Regions from separate parts of the Homo sapiens genome. Here region 1 is linked to region 2. Evidence: promoter capture Hi-C in human tissues and cell types (Jung and others, 2019). All regions are on one chromosome and are shown on one strand. Each heading gives the region's core, a stretch centred on a gene start or on the middle of the fragment in contact. The rest is flanking DNA. Distances are from core to core; before and after follow the strand shown.

The links. Contacts are between HindIII fragments. The study calls those that stand out against the background at their distance.
Region 1: a fragment that was not itself captured here is called in contact with the fragment with the promoter of FRAT1 in region 2 in 4 of the 25 tissues and cell types used here (hippocampus, lymphoblastoid cells, mesenchymal stem cells and 1 more).

The regions. Positions count from the first base shown.
Region 1 is chr10:97,069,109-97,075,479 of GRCh38, reverse strand. The region is part of intron 4 of SLIT1 (slit guidance ligand 1); the gene reads left to right. Among named protein-coding and RNA genes, the nearest start is that of SLIT1-AS1, 30 kb to the left of the region's middle. RefSeq lists a silencer at 2,354-2,648 and an enhancer at 4,486-5,685. The HindIII fragment of the contact is 4,308 bases long and covers 588-4,895 here.
Region 2 is chr10:97,316,064-97,322,674 of GRCh38, reverse strand. FRAT1 (FRAT regulator of Wnt signaling pathway 1) reads right to left here and starts at 3,404. Exons shown (of 1, transcript NM_005479.4): 1 at 760-3,404. The coding sequence starts at 3,221. The coding sequence ends at 2,382. RefSeq lists enhancers at 2,020-2,179, 3,269-3,563, 3,301-4,090 and silencers at 2,520-2,619, 3,120-3,429. The HindIII fragment of the contact is 12,338 bases long and covers 1-4,648 here.

The DNA of each region.
Region 1 (6,371 bases), core at 1,492-3,991, 250 kb after region 2:
TCATGGAGTGGGTTGGCGGCCTTGAGCCTCAGCCTCCTGACTCCCAGGCCCTGACCCTCCCTCCTCCTCCCTACAGAGCCCAAAAGGCAATTATTAAAGTGTGGGCAATGGCAGCCAACTCTGCCAGTCCTGGCTGAGGCCCCACACTCAGCTGTGGTTAAGCCATATGATAATTATTCCCATTTTACCATGAGAAGACTGAGGCTTGGGGGTTAGAAGATGTGCATGAGGCCAGAGCCTGAGTCCTTAATCCAACCATCTTCTGACAAGGATCTAAGCCCCCAGATGAGGTGCCCTGGTACCCTTGGGGTGCCCTGGTTCAAGGTAACCACTCGGGCTGCAGGGGGCCGAGGGGACAGGCCAGGCTGCCCAGAGCTTCCATGTGGCATGAAAGGCAGACAAAGTAAGGCCTGTGCCCTGCAGTGGCGCCCGAGTGGGCAGCAAGAACCCAGAGCCCAGTCCAGCCTTGGCAGGTGCCCAGCAGCCCTCTGTGTACTCCCACCCCTGCCCCCACTGCTAATCCCCTTAGAGGCTGGTCTGCCAGCAGGGACCAATCAGGTTAGAGCGTGAAGGCAGATTAGCAGCCAGAACATGGGGTCTTGACCTCAGCTTCCCCAACCCCTGCCTCCTCCAGCCCTGGGAGAGGATGGGGGGATTGGCAGAGTGTGCAGAAGGAGGGGCAGCCAGAGCAGGGTGCCTGGGGATGGTGCCAAGTCAGGGTGTGGGCCTGGCGGCCCCCTTGTCTTCAGGGGCGGGCGGCCGACTGGGGTTGCCCGATGCTTCCAGGCCAAGTGGGGGCTGCTCTTGGTGGAGCTTGCCTCCTGGGGTGCTTGATCTTGGCAATGGGGTTCATGCTTTGTCTGCAGGGCCCTTGCCTTGAGCTGGTGTGAACTTGGAACCACTTGAGGGTGTTGGTTGTTAATATCCTGAAGGATGTGTGAAGGGAAGAGGTGCGATTGTTACATCATCCACAATAACAAGTGCTTGCTCGTGCCTGCCTTCCCCTTCTGAGCCTGCATCTCACTGGGTCTGCAGCCTGGTTAGGCAGAGCAGGTACAAGTGGCCGCAGCATAGGTGGGGAGCTGTGGTCTCTCGCCATGCACAGCCAGCCTGTCTGGCCCTGAGCTCCTGCCTCTCCCTTGGCCAGTCCTAACTACTTGTTTTGGCCGGGAAAACGGAGAGGGATTAGAGCAGAGGACTCATGTAAGGATCCATTTTAGTTCATTCAGCTAAAAATTACTAAGTCTCTGCAATGTGCCAGGATATAAGGGAAAGTGAAGGAGAGTGTCTGCTGGGAGGTTATGGTCTGGAGAGGGAGATGGACGTTCACCAGAGTCAGTACTTCATCACATTCGGTGCACCTGTATTTTATTACAAGCCTGGGTTGTGCCGAAAAGTAAAAGTGGGGGTGCTAGGAGCCTGTTGCAGATAGAGCAGCTGACTCAGGCTCAGGGGAGGTGTTTGTAGACTGAGGTGTGAAGGATAAATAGCGTTTCCTGGGTGAAGGTGAGGGAAGAGTATCCCAGGCAGAAGCCACAGCAAGTACACAGGTCCTGTGGATGTCAGGAGGGGTCTGGGAAACTGGAGGAATGTCAGCAGAGGTGAGGGAGTAGGCAGCGGCACCTCTCCCATCAGATCCTGCAACATAAGTGCCGCTTTCCATCCCCATGTTGCAGATGAGAAAACTGGGGCCAGAGAGGTTACATGACTTGCCCGAGACCACACGATTTAAGTGAGTGGAGCCAAGTCTCCCCTGTGACACCCAGCTGTGGGCTTTGTCCTCAGCACCCTGGCCTCTCCGTGAGTGCTCCCTGGACCAGCATCCCCGCATCCCCCAGGTGCTTGTCAGAAGTCTGGGACCTTGTCCCGCCCTTCAGCTTCTGCCCCAGCCCTGTATCTCCCCAGCGCTGTCCTGGGTCTGACTCTGGGGATCTGTCATGGTGCCCTCGTCACTGTCCTGCCCCTGCCCTCCTTCTGAACCCCTGTCTGGCTCCGCTTCCCCGGGCTGGGACAGGCCCTGGCTGCCCTGGGCTTGGCTGTTTGTCCTTCCAGTCGCAGATCCCGCCCGCTTCCAGGACGGCAGTTCTCAGGGTGTCTCATTCTGCCCAGACACATCCTGGCCATCTCCTCACTTCAGGGCGTTTGACAAGGCCGCGTGGGAGGAGGACGGGCAGCAATGACTGGGTCTGAGGAAGATGAAGGTGGCCCAGAGCTCCCGGAAAACTGATGGGGAAAGGCTTAGGTGGTGCTTTTGGGGGGTTTCCACACAGACCAGGGGCAGAAGACATGATAAACTTTATTTCAAAGGGATTTGGGAAAGATGAGACAAGTATTGGCAAGGTAGGAAGTCAGTTGGAGCAAAAAGAAAAAAAAAGAGAATAGCTTTGTTCTGCTAGTTTGCGATGTGGTTGAGGCATCCAGGTCCAGGGAAGGCTTCTGGCGCCCCCTCGTGGGAAAGCTTGAAACAACAGAGCCTTAGGGTTGCTTAGGCTGTGCTTCGGGCAGGGACAACAGCCCGCATTTCTTGAATGCTGCTAAATGGAGGTTGTGATTCAGAAGCTTAAGTACATCAATTCACAATCTTCTCCAAAGTCCCACGTGGTAGTTATTTTACAAATAGGACACCTGAAGCTCTCAGGTGCAGAACTTCTCGAGGTCCATGGTTGGTCAATAGCAGAAGCAGGAGTTGAACCTGGTCCTTCTCTCTACAGGTGCAGGCTCCTTCTACCACCCGCTTTGCTGCCATCAGGCTGCATTTTCCTGAGGCTTCCAAGGTTCACCTGTTTTCCTCTGGCCTCTCCTGGGGCCCCAAATTCACTTTCCTGTCTTCATTTAAACGATGAGGGCTGGTTCCGGCTGTGGGCTGACTGGCCAGGGTGGGACAGTTCCACACCCAGCTTTGGGCCATCTCTTATCTCTTGATGGCCGTTGGCATCACCTGCTGCCTGCCTGCCTGGGGGCTGTGTCTTTCCTCTTTAAGCTTTGGTGCCCCAGAACAAAGCCTGAAAGATGGTCAGAGCTGGGCACAGTGCCCGTGCCTTTAGTCCCAGCTACTTGGGAGGCTGAGGAGGGAGGATCACTTGAACCCAGGAGTTTGAGACCAGCCTGGACAACATAGTGAGACCCTGTCTCTACAAAAATATTTTTTAAAAAATTAGCCAGGCATGGTAGCATGCGCCTGTAGTCCCAGCTACTCAGGAAGCTGAGAGAGGAAAATCACCTGAGCCCAGGATTTCAACAGTGCAGTGAGCTGTGATTGAGTGACTGCACTCCAGCCTGAGTGACAGAGTGAGATGCTGTCTCTAAATAAATAAACAAAATAATTAAAAAGATGGTCATATCACAGCCCTCTCTGTTCTATCCCATCACTCTCCCCGGCCTGTGTGAGGCTTCTCCCAGCTGACACTTGCTTCCCAGAGCCTCTGCTCCTCCCCAGTCATACCAGGCTCTCTCATGCCCCAGCGTCTTTGCATAGACTGGGCCTACCTGGAGTCTGCCTCTGCCTTCTTCCTCTTCCCTACTTAGTTCCTGGTGTGAGTCCTTATAGAAATGCATTTGCTGAATTGTACTTTGATGCTATTATAAGAAACAGACACTCAAACCCCATTAATTATAAGGATCTAGTGTTATTGATTAGGCTACACTGTCATTTTTAATAAACACCCCTGGGAAAATTCTTGCCTCATCTGAGTGCCACACCAGCTGTACTCCTGAGAAGCTGATCCTTTTAGACTTATACGTGTCCCGTGGGCGCTGTGAGCTGACTGGCTCTCCTTTCACGCTGGCTTTCAGTGAGAAAGCTCAGAGCCCCGCTCAGCCCAGCCTGGCATGTGGTCACATGGTGCATGCATTCTTAGTACCCGCCATTGATTCCTCCTCTTCTCTGTGCCTCATTTTTCACTCTTGCTCTCTTGCTGTTTTGAAAATCCCTATAAGCCACCTTAAAGGCTTTCTAGAACAAGGTTGGGTCTAAATCGATAAGCAAATCAATACGAATAAAAAAACCTTCCTTGCAGGGTTGTGGTGAGGATTAAATGGAATAATGAATGGATGTGAGTGCCGGCCCAGCGTTCCTTCCCAGGCTTGGCCAAAGGGTGAGTGGTCGGCTGGGCTGAGATGAGGGTCCCACTGGAGGTCCCGCCTTCCTGACTCTGTGGACGTCCTCAGGCCACCACTCCTTCCTGCCTCCATCTGGCTCTTAATGCACATGCTCTCATCTCCCTGAGTCCCTGTGGGTCAGCAAAGGTGGCAGGCTGTGTCTGTCTTCTCCCCAGACCCCGTCTTTCAGTAGGTGTATGGCCAGCAACTTTCCTCACCTCCTTTCTGGGACCCCAAATCCTCTAAAGAAGCAACCACCTCACTTGATGTGTGTCTTAGTCTGTTCCAGCTGCTATAACAAAATATTGTATTGGGAGGCTGAGGTGGGTGAATCACTTGAGGCCAGGAGTTTGAGACCAGCCTGAGCAACAAAATGAGACCCTGTCTCCACCCGTAGAGCATCTGTAGTCCCAGCGCATCTGTAGTCCCAGCTACTCAGAAGGCTGAGGTGGGGAGGATCGCTTGAGCCCAGGAGTTCAAGGTGACAGTGTGCTATGATTGTGCCACTGCAGTCTGGCCTGGGTGACAGCAAGACCTTGTCTCTAAAAAAACAAAAACAAAATGCCGTAGACCAAGTGGCTTATAAACAGCAGAAATTTATTTCTCACAGTTCTAGAGGTGGGAAGTCCAAGATCAAGGTATTGGCAGATTTGGCGTGTGGTGAAGGCTGCTTCCGGCTTCATAGACAGTGCCTTCTAGCTGTGTCCTCACACGGAGGAAGGGGCAAGGCAGCTCTCTGCGGTCTCTTTCATAAGGGCACTAATCCTATTATAAGGATGGAGCTCACATGACCTATCACCTCCCAAAGTCCTCACCTCCTAATACCATCACATTGGAGATTAGGTTTCAACCTATGCCTTTTTTGAGAGGAAACGATAATTCAGACCATAGCAATGTGTCTTGCAGGCATGTGGTTGGGTCTGCACTGGTGAAGAGCTTAGAAATCTTCTGCTCCAGCCTATGAATTGGACAAATGAGGAAACTGAGGCCCCCAAAAAGAAGTGATGTAGCCAAGTCTCTAACATGATTTCAGCCCATTAACCTGGAGCCTAAGCATGCCCCTCCCTTCCTTAGGGTCATGCCTCAAAGCAACGCTGGATGAGTCATCAATTGTGCGTAACCAATGACTTCAAAACACTGCGGCTTTCAAGAACAAACAATAAACATCTCACAGTCTCTGTAGGTGGCTGGGTGGTTCTGGCTTGGGGTTTTTCATGAGATTGCATCACAATGTTGGGGGGTTGTGTCATCTGAAGGCTTGGCTGGGGCTGGAGAATGCACTTCCTTGATGGCTGGCTCACAGGCTGGCAAGCCTGTGCCTGCTGTTGGCGAGAGGCCTCGGTTCCTCTCCATGTGGGCCTCCCCAGAGAGCTGCTTGAGTGTCCTTATGACCTGGGTTGGGTTCTCCCAGAGAGGGCAAACCCAGAAGGAACAAGGAGGGAGCTACAGTGTCTTTTATGATCTAGTCTCGGAGGTTATCCATTACCGTTTCCATCATATGTGGTTCTTCAGAAGTAAGTTACTGAGTCCTGCCCACATTCAGGAGGAAGAGAATGAGCCTCTGTCTTTTGAAGGGAGGAATGTCAAAGAATTTGTGGATGTCTTTTAACTACCACAACCTCCCACGTACACACACCAGTCATACGAAACCACATGAGATTCCCCCAGCCTGCCTTGTTCCTTCCTGTCTCTGGGTTTCTGCACATGCTGTTACCGCTGCTTAGAACACCCTTTCCTCATTTTCCATTTCTGTCTGGGACACATCAACTCTTTAAGATCCGGTCAGAGATCACCTCTCCTCCCTCCAGCGGACTTGTTCACTCACTTCTCTGCACTCTCCCATCTCTTTGGCAGTACTGCTCCTCCAGCCATTGTTGAAAGCTGGCATGTACACCCCATGAAAGCAAGTCTTTGGGGGTCCCCAGCAGACCATCAGCTTTCAGTACACATTTCTGGGGTGAAGGATTGAAGGTCCACTCACTGGTTTCCCATCTGTGCCCTCTTCTGGGCATGAGTGCTCTAGGGTGGACCATGCACCTGTGGTTAGCTCTGCATCCACAAGCCCAGCCCGGTCACTGGTGCCTGTGGGCACTCCATCAAGGTGAGTTTGGTTTCATGTTGGGCTCCCATGTCAGCCTGGGCTCCTGGTTACTGAGGAACTCGCATGACCATGAGCTCCAGTGTGGGCAGTCTGTTGTTTACCTGTGTGGCCTGTACAGCCCTGCTCTAAATCCAGTAATTTCCCTGCCAGCCCACTCTGCCCAGTGGCAGCA
Region 2 (6,611 bases), core at 2,155-4,654:
GTCTTGAACTTCTGGGCTCCAGCAATCCTCCACTTTAGCCTCCCAAAGTGCTACTAGGATTACAGGTGTAAACTACTGGGCCTGGCCCACCTTTTATTTCATTATCCCTGTTGTACGGATGAGGAAACTGAAGCCACAGAGGTAGAGCAACTTGTCCAAGGTTCCCTTCCCACTTCAGAAGTGGGCTTAAACTCTGGGTACTCTTTCCTCAGAGGGAGGAAATTAGCTCCTTCCATGAGGGAACAGACTGAAGTAAGTCAGAACCATAAGGATAGACATGGCCTGTTATGTCACTGCTTAGGGACAGAATGGTATAAATGTGCCAGGGGCAAAGACAGGAGTCTTTTGTAAGTTTCCACCCAGCTTTCCTACCACCAGGCTCACATTGTGAGCAGTCTCCTAATCAAGAGCTGCCCCAGCCTTAAGGCCCACCTTGTGGAACAAGTGCACTTAATGGCCACGGTGAGAAAGAAGAAAAAAAGAAAAAGAAAAAAAAAAAGATAAGCCTCCCAGTTTGCAGTGACTGGCTGATCTGATGTCCTTTGCTAATAGAGGCAGCTTTATAACACATCTCCATCACTGACTAGTAATCCAAAAGGCTCTGAGGTTTTAACGAATGGGATTGGTCCAAAACCTGACCTCACTTTCATTTAATTTCATGCCAGCTCCAATACACACCCAGCTGCGGAGACCTTGTCTAGCTAGTGAGCTGCTCAGACACAAAGGCGCTCTAATTACCATCCACAAGCCAGGCTGACAGAGATTTCAAGTGTTTTCATGTTTATGGAGATCAGAGAAATGTGTTCTGTACATCTTTTTCACTGATGGCAAGTATAAAATAAAACCAAACAAAAAACCCAACACATTTATTCAAAGCAGGCATTTCAGTTAAGTTAAAATCCTATAATCAGGATAGCCACAATTCCAGACACTCCGGTGCGAAGTGTAGATATGTCAGTAGCCACATCTGGATGATGAACAAGCCATTGACTATAAAAACGAGAACAACAGCACAGTCTCAGCGCCTTTAGAGTGAGTGAACAGTATGTTCCAAGCACTTCACCATGGTTCACAATGGCAAAGCCTGCAGCTTCTCCATTTGGAGGGTCACATTTTCTACTCGGTTTCCTGCACTTACAAAGGCCAGCTGGCATGGCTGGGGGAGGGGCAGAGGGAGGAAATCAACTCGTCTATCCAGGGAATTGCAGCTGTTATTGCAAATGGCCCCGGAGAGCCCATTATAAGCTGCTGTGCTAGGCTGTGTGTCCCTGGAGTGTCCATCACATGGCGTCTCCCTAGCCCCCAACCCAGGCCCCCAGGATCCCAGAGCCACCCGCTTGAGTAGGACTGCAGAGCCGAGTAGGAGAGGAGGAACCCAGGGCCCGGTCTCGGGAGTTTCCGTGAAAGCCCGGAGCGCGGCCAGGGGCGGTGGTCGCCTACCGAAGCACAGCCGCCCAGCACGTCCGCGCTTTCCCACACCCGCGGTGGCGGCGACGCGCGTGTCCTCAGGAGACTCCAGCACTTGCAAAACACTGCGCTCTTCTCCGAGCACCGGCAGAACCTGGCTACTCTGTCCCGCAACCCAGTGCGTGCCCAGGAAACAGTGACCTTGAACCGAGGAGAGGCGGGCCGGCTCTGAAAATACACTTTAGACAGGGCGTGGGGTTCACTCCGCGCCTCTCTACCCTTCCACCACCATTCAATACTCCCCGCCCCCACCTCCTTTCCCCACCCGTGTCGTACAGCCTTCCCCCACCACTCTGAGAAGAGAGACAGTTGCAAAGAGAGCGCAGGGGTTAACTCCTATTCAACCCCCAAAGGGTCCCTTCATGGCACCGCATGTTTGGTATTAAGCAGCACCTCCAAAGACACAAGATGGTTTTTTTAAGTCTGGCAGATTGGGCTGCACCCTGAAATTATCTACTCATGTTCTCCTCCCCCAAAGTGGATCAGGAGCCAGCCCTGAAAAGGTAAAGCAAGTAACTGGCATCATCCTCCGTGGTTCCGGCGCACCGCGATCCGGAGAAGCGTGGATTGTGGCCACATGGTCGCGGGGCTGGAGGGCACTGAGAGGCTGCGAGGAAATGCAGGCTCCGCGGCCAGGTCGGGTCACGCCAAATAAGGAGTCCTACTGACTTGTACGTTTGAGGTGCGCTCTGTAAAATCTGCCTTAAATAGGGCCAAAGTCCTTCATTCCAAATATTTTGGCCCTCAACCCCAGTTACCCGCGAAACACTCGCGATTTTTCGGTTCCTCGTCATTAGCTTTTTACTCTCGCTTCCAAAAGCCAGAGTTCTCCACCAGCCTGAGTAGAACTGCAGCCCTCAAGGGAACCCCTTGCCCTCCAGTCTGAGGCTGGCGCTGTGGCCACCCCGGGCGTGTTAGCTGCCAGGCACAAGAACGCCGTCGCCAGTTCTGAGCTGCGCCCTCCCGGAGGCGCCAGGGTCACTGCAGGCCGCGCGAGGGCTGCGAGGCGAAGGGGGTTCATGCACCGGGGCCGACAGAGGTCCCAGGAGCGGGCGTTGGGGAAGCTTTGCACGTAACTGCAGCCGTCGCGAATGAAGCCTTCGCACGGCCTCCTTGATGAGGTTTCCAGAGAGCACTAGCTGCTGCAGAAGCCGGTGCGGGTCGTCGTCGCCTGTGCGGGTTTCTGGTTGGGACCCGCGTCGCTGCTGCAGGCGGCGGGAGGCGGCGGCGCCCCGGAGCCATCCTCGCCGGCACGGACCCGACAGCGGCTGCGGGATGCCCTGCTTGCCAGCTCCCGGAGGCCCATCAAGGTCGGCCTGAGGGGGCAGTGGGGACAGCGCGCTGGGGCCTGTGGCGAGCTCGGCCACGCAGTAGGGCGCAGCGCGGCCCCGCACGCGGCCGCGGTCCCCCAGGGCGCAGCGCAGGACCCCAGGGGGCGCCGGGCCCACAGTCTCCGCCAACGCGGGCGGCAGCAGCAGCGGCACCGCCGGGGACCTGGCCTTGTCCGCCGGCACCGCCGCAGCCAGGGGCCCCGGGGCCCGCAGCGGCGCCCCCGGGGGCCCGCACGGCGAGGCCGGGCTGTGCTGCGCCGCGTCCAGCTGCAGCGTCTCGCCGATCTGGGCCACCAGCCGGTCCACCTCGCCCGAGCTGCCCAGCGCCACTGACTGCTGCAGTAGGAGGAAGCTGTCCTCCTCCTCTTCCTCCCCCTCCGCCTCCTCGCCGGCTTCCTCTTCCTCCTCCCTCCGGCACGGCATGGCCCCCTGTCTGGGCACCCGGAGCTGTGCGGGCGTCGCTGGGGGCTCGGCTGCCGGCGGGCGCGGTGGGCCGCGGCGGAGCGGGCGCGGAGCTGAAGACTAAGTCTGGACCGGGGCCGGGGCGGACGCGGAAGCCGGAGCCCGCCAGGCACTCTAGCCGCGCGCCTGCAGCCGCGGGAGCCGGAATCCTGCCGGCTCGGGTTGATTTGTAAACAATGGGTGACGTCACGTCGGGCCCTACCACCGCGCCGGGGAGGGGGTGCTGTGCCGCTGGGGGACGGCGCTTCTGTGGGATTGGGGGTCTGGGTGAAGCCGGACTGCCTTCTGAGCTCCTTCGCTCAGGGTGCTGTCTGCAAGGGCGCCCTGGGGACCTGATCCTGGCTCCCGCAGTCGGGCGCGATTGGCATTTCCAGAAATGGGCACCAGCGTGAACCCTGTTGGTTTCTTCCACACACAAGCAAGCACGCACACTAACACACACCCACCCACCCACACACCCCTTCTCTCCGTGCGTCAACTCAACCGGTTTTTAGCGTTTGCGCTTTTGAGGTCCGGCATGCGGGCGTCTGGTGAGGATGGAAAGGAAAGGGAGTCAGGCTAGGGATTTGTACGGAGATTAGGGAAATGAAGCTGACGGGAATGGAAAGGAAGAAGGGGACCTTGTCGTTCGATGGAGGTGGCAGAGTTGGAAATGGCAAAGAAAGGCCACAGATTAATGTTTTTTGATCGAGATCCTGGGCGGATGGGGGCCTGGACTGGGGTTGGCATTGCTGGAGAGGAGGTTGCTAGTCTTTTTGTTTATTTGTTTGTTTGTTTTTTTGAGACGGAGTCTCGCTCTATCGCCCAGGCTGGAGTGCAGTGGCTCGATCTCCACTCACTACAACCTCCGCCTCCTGCGTTTAAGCAATTCTCCTGCCTCAGCCTTCCGAGTAGCTGGGATTACAGGCGCCCACCACCACGCCCGGCTAATTTTTGTATTTTTAGTAGAGACGGGGTTTCACCATGTTGGCCAGGCTGGTCTCGAACTCCTGACCTCAGGTGATCCACCCGCCTCAGCCTCCCAAAGTGCTGGGATTACAGGCGTGAGCCACTGCGCCCGGCCTAGGTTGCTACTCTTTTTGTTTTGTTTTGTTTTTTTGAGACAGAGTTTCGCTCTTGTTGCCCAGGCTGGAGTACAATGGCGCAATCTCCGCTCACCACAACTTCCGCCTCCTGGGTTCAAGCAGTTCTCCTGCCTCAGCCTCCCGAGTTGCTGGGATTACAGGCATGCGCCGCCATGCCCAGCCTAATTTTGTGTTTTTAGCAGAGATGGGGTTTCTCCATATTGGTCAGGCTGGTCTGGTACTCCCGACCTCAGGTGATCCACCTGCCTCGGCCTCCCAAAATCCTGGGATTACAAGCGTGAGCCACCACGCCTGGCTATAGGTTGTTAGTCTTAAGAGGGGCTATGTCCAGAAAGTTGTTTAAAAAAAAGCCTCAGACCAGTAGGGGGGATGGGCTCTGAGGAGGTACGTAGTAGCAGAGAAAAATACCTGTTTGGATGAAAATGGAGATACGCTTCCTTCCTTCCTTTCTTCCTTTTCTTTCTCTTTCTTTTCTTTCTTTGACAGAATTTCACTCTGTCACCCAGGCTGGAGTGCAGTGGTGTGATCTGGCTGATTGCAGCCTTGACTTCCCAGGATCAGGTGATCCTCCCACCTCAGCCTCCCGAGTAGCTGGGACAATAGGCACGCGCCACTACACCTGGCTAATTTTTGTATTTTTAGTGGATACAGGGTTTCGCCATGTTGGCCCGTCCGGTCTCAAACTCCTGGACTCAAGCAATCCCTCCTCCCGAAATGCTGGCGTTACAGACATGAGCCACCGCGCCCAGCCTGGAAGCAACTTTAAAATTCTGAGCATGATATAGAAAATAGGATACAAAGAAAGAAATGAGCCTGGAGATCCAGATAAATAGAAAACGAGGGTCTTGTTGGGCAGTTCCAACGATAATAATTATAGGAGCAAACCTTTAGGAAGGGATGAGTGCAGGAAAGAGGTAGGGAAGTTGGTTTAAAAAGAGTTGGGTTTGTTTTTGTCAAGTGTGGAGGAAAAAATGTAAAAACAGAGGAAGAGACAGTTTAAACAAAGCCATTGGATTTCTAATCTACGAAATCTGGATTTCTACAGGGTGTCATAAGGTTCATCACCTTGTTTTTGTGGATTCCTTAGGATTTTCTATATAGAAGATCGTGTCATCTACAAATAGAGATAGTTTTGCTTCTCTTCTTTTTCTTTTTTCTTTTCTTTTTTTCTTTTTTTTTTTTTTTGAGACAGGGTCTCATTCTGTGGCCCAGGCTGGAGTGCAGTGGCATGATCTCTGCTCACTGCAGCCTTGACTTCCCCAGGCTCAGTTGATCCTCCTATCTCAGCCTCCTGAGTAGCTGGGACTACAGGTGCAAGCCACCATGCCTGGCTAATTTTTGTATTTTTTGTAGACCCAGGGGGTCTCACCATGTTGCTCGGGCAGGTCTTGAACTCCTGAGCTCAAACGATCCGCCCACCCCAGCTTCCTAAAGTGCTAAGATTACAGGCATGAGCCACAGCACCTGGCCCTGTCTTATTCCTGATCTTAGATGAAAACATTCAGTCTTTCACAACATTAGGTAGGATGTTAGCTGTGGATTTTTCATAGATAGTATTTATCAGGTTAAGAATGTTCCCTTCTATTCCTGGTTTGTTGGGCATTTGTTGTTGTTGTTGTTGTTGTTGTTATTGTTGTTGTGATGGAGTCTTGCTCTGTTGTCCAGGCTGGAGTGCAGTGGCACAATCTTCGCTCACTGCAACCTCTGCCTCCCGGGTTCAAGCAGTTCTCCTGCCTCAGCCTGCTAAGTAGCTGACACTGCAGGCGTGCACCACCATGCCTGGCTAATTTTTGTATTTTTAGTAGAGATGGGGTTTCACCATGTTGGCCAGGCTGGTCTTGAACTCCTGACTTCAGGTGATCCGCCTGCCTCGACCTCCCAAAGTGCTGGGATTTACAGGCATGAGCCACCAGACCCGGCCTACTTAAAATTTTCAAATGAAAATAATTAGTAGCAGTTTACAATTTGTGCATTTTTATCTTTGGCTCACAACTTATAAGCCTCATATATTGTTGTGGGCATGAAAAATGGTACAACCACCTTGGAAAAAGGCCTGACAGTTTCTTATAAAATGAAACATACACCTGTCCTGGAACACAGTTTCAATCCTGGATACTTAGCTAAGAGAAATAAACACATGGGCCCACATCAAGGCCTACAGGGAGGTGATCATAGCATATTTTTTTTTCTTTTTAATTGAGACAGGGTCTCCCTCTTTTGCCCAGGCTGGAGTGCAGTGGCACGATGTTGGCTCACATCAAAGGAG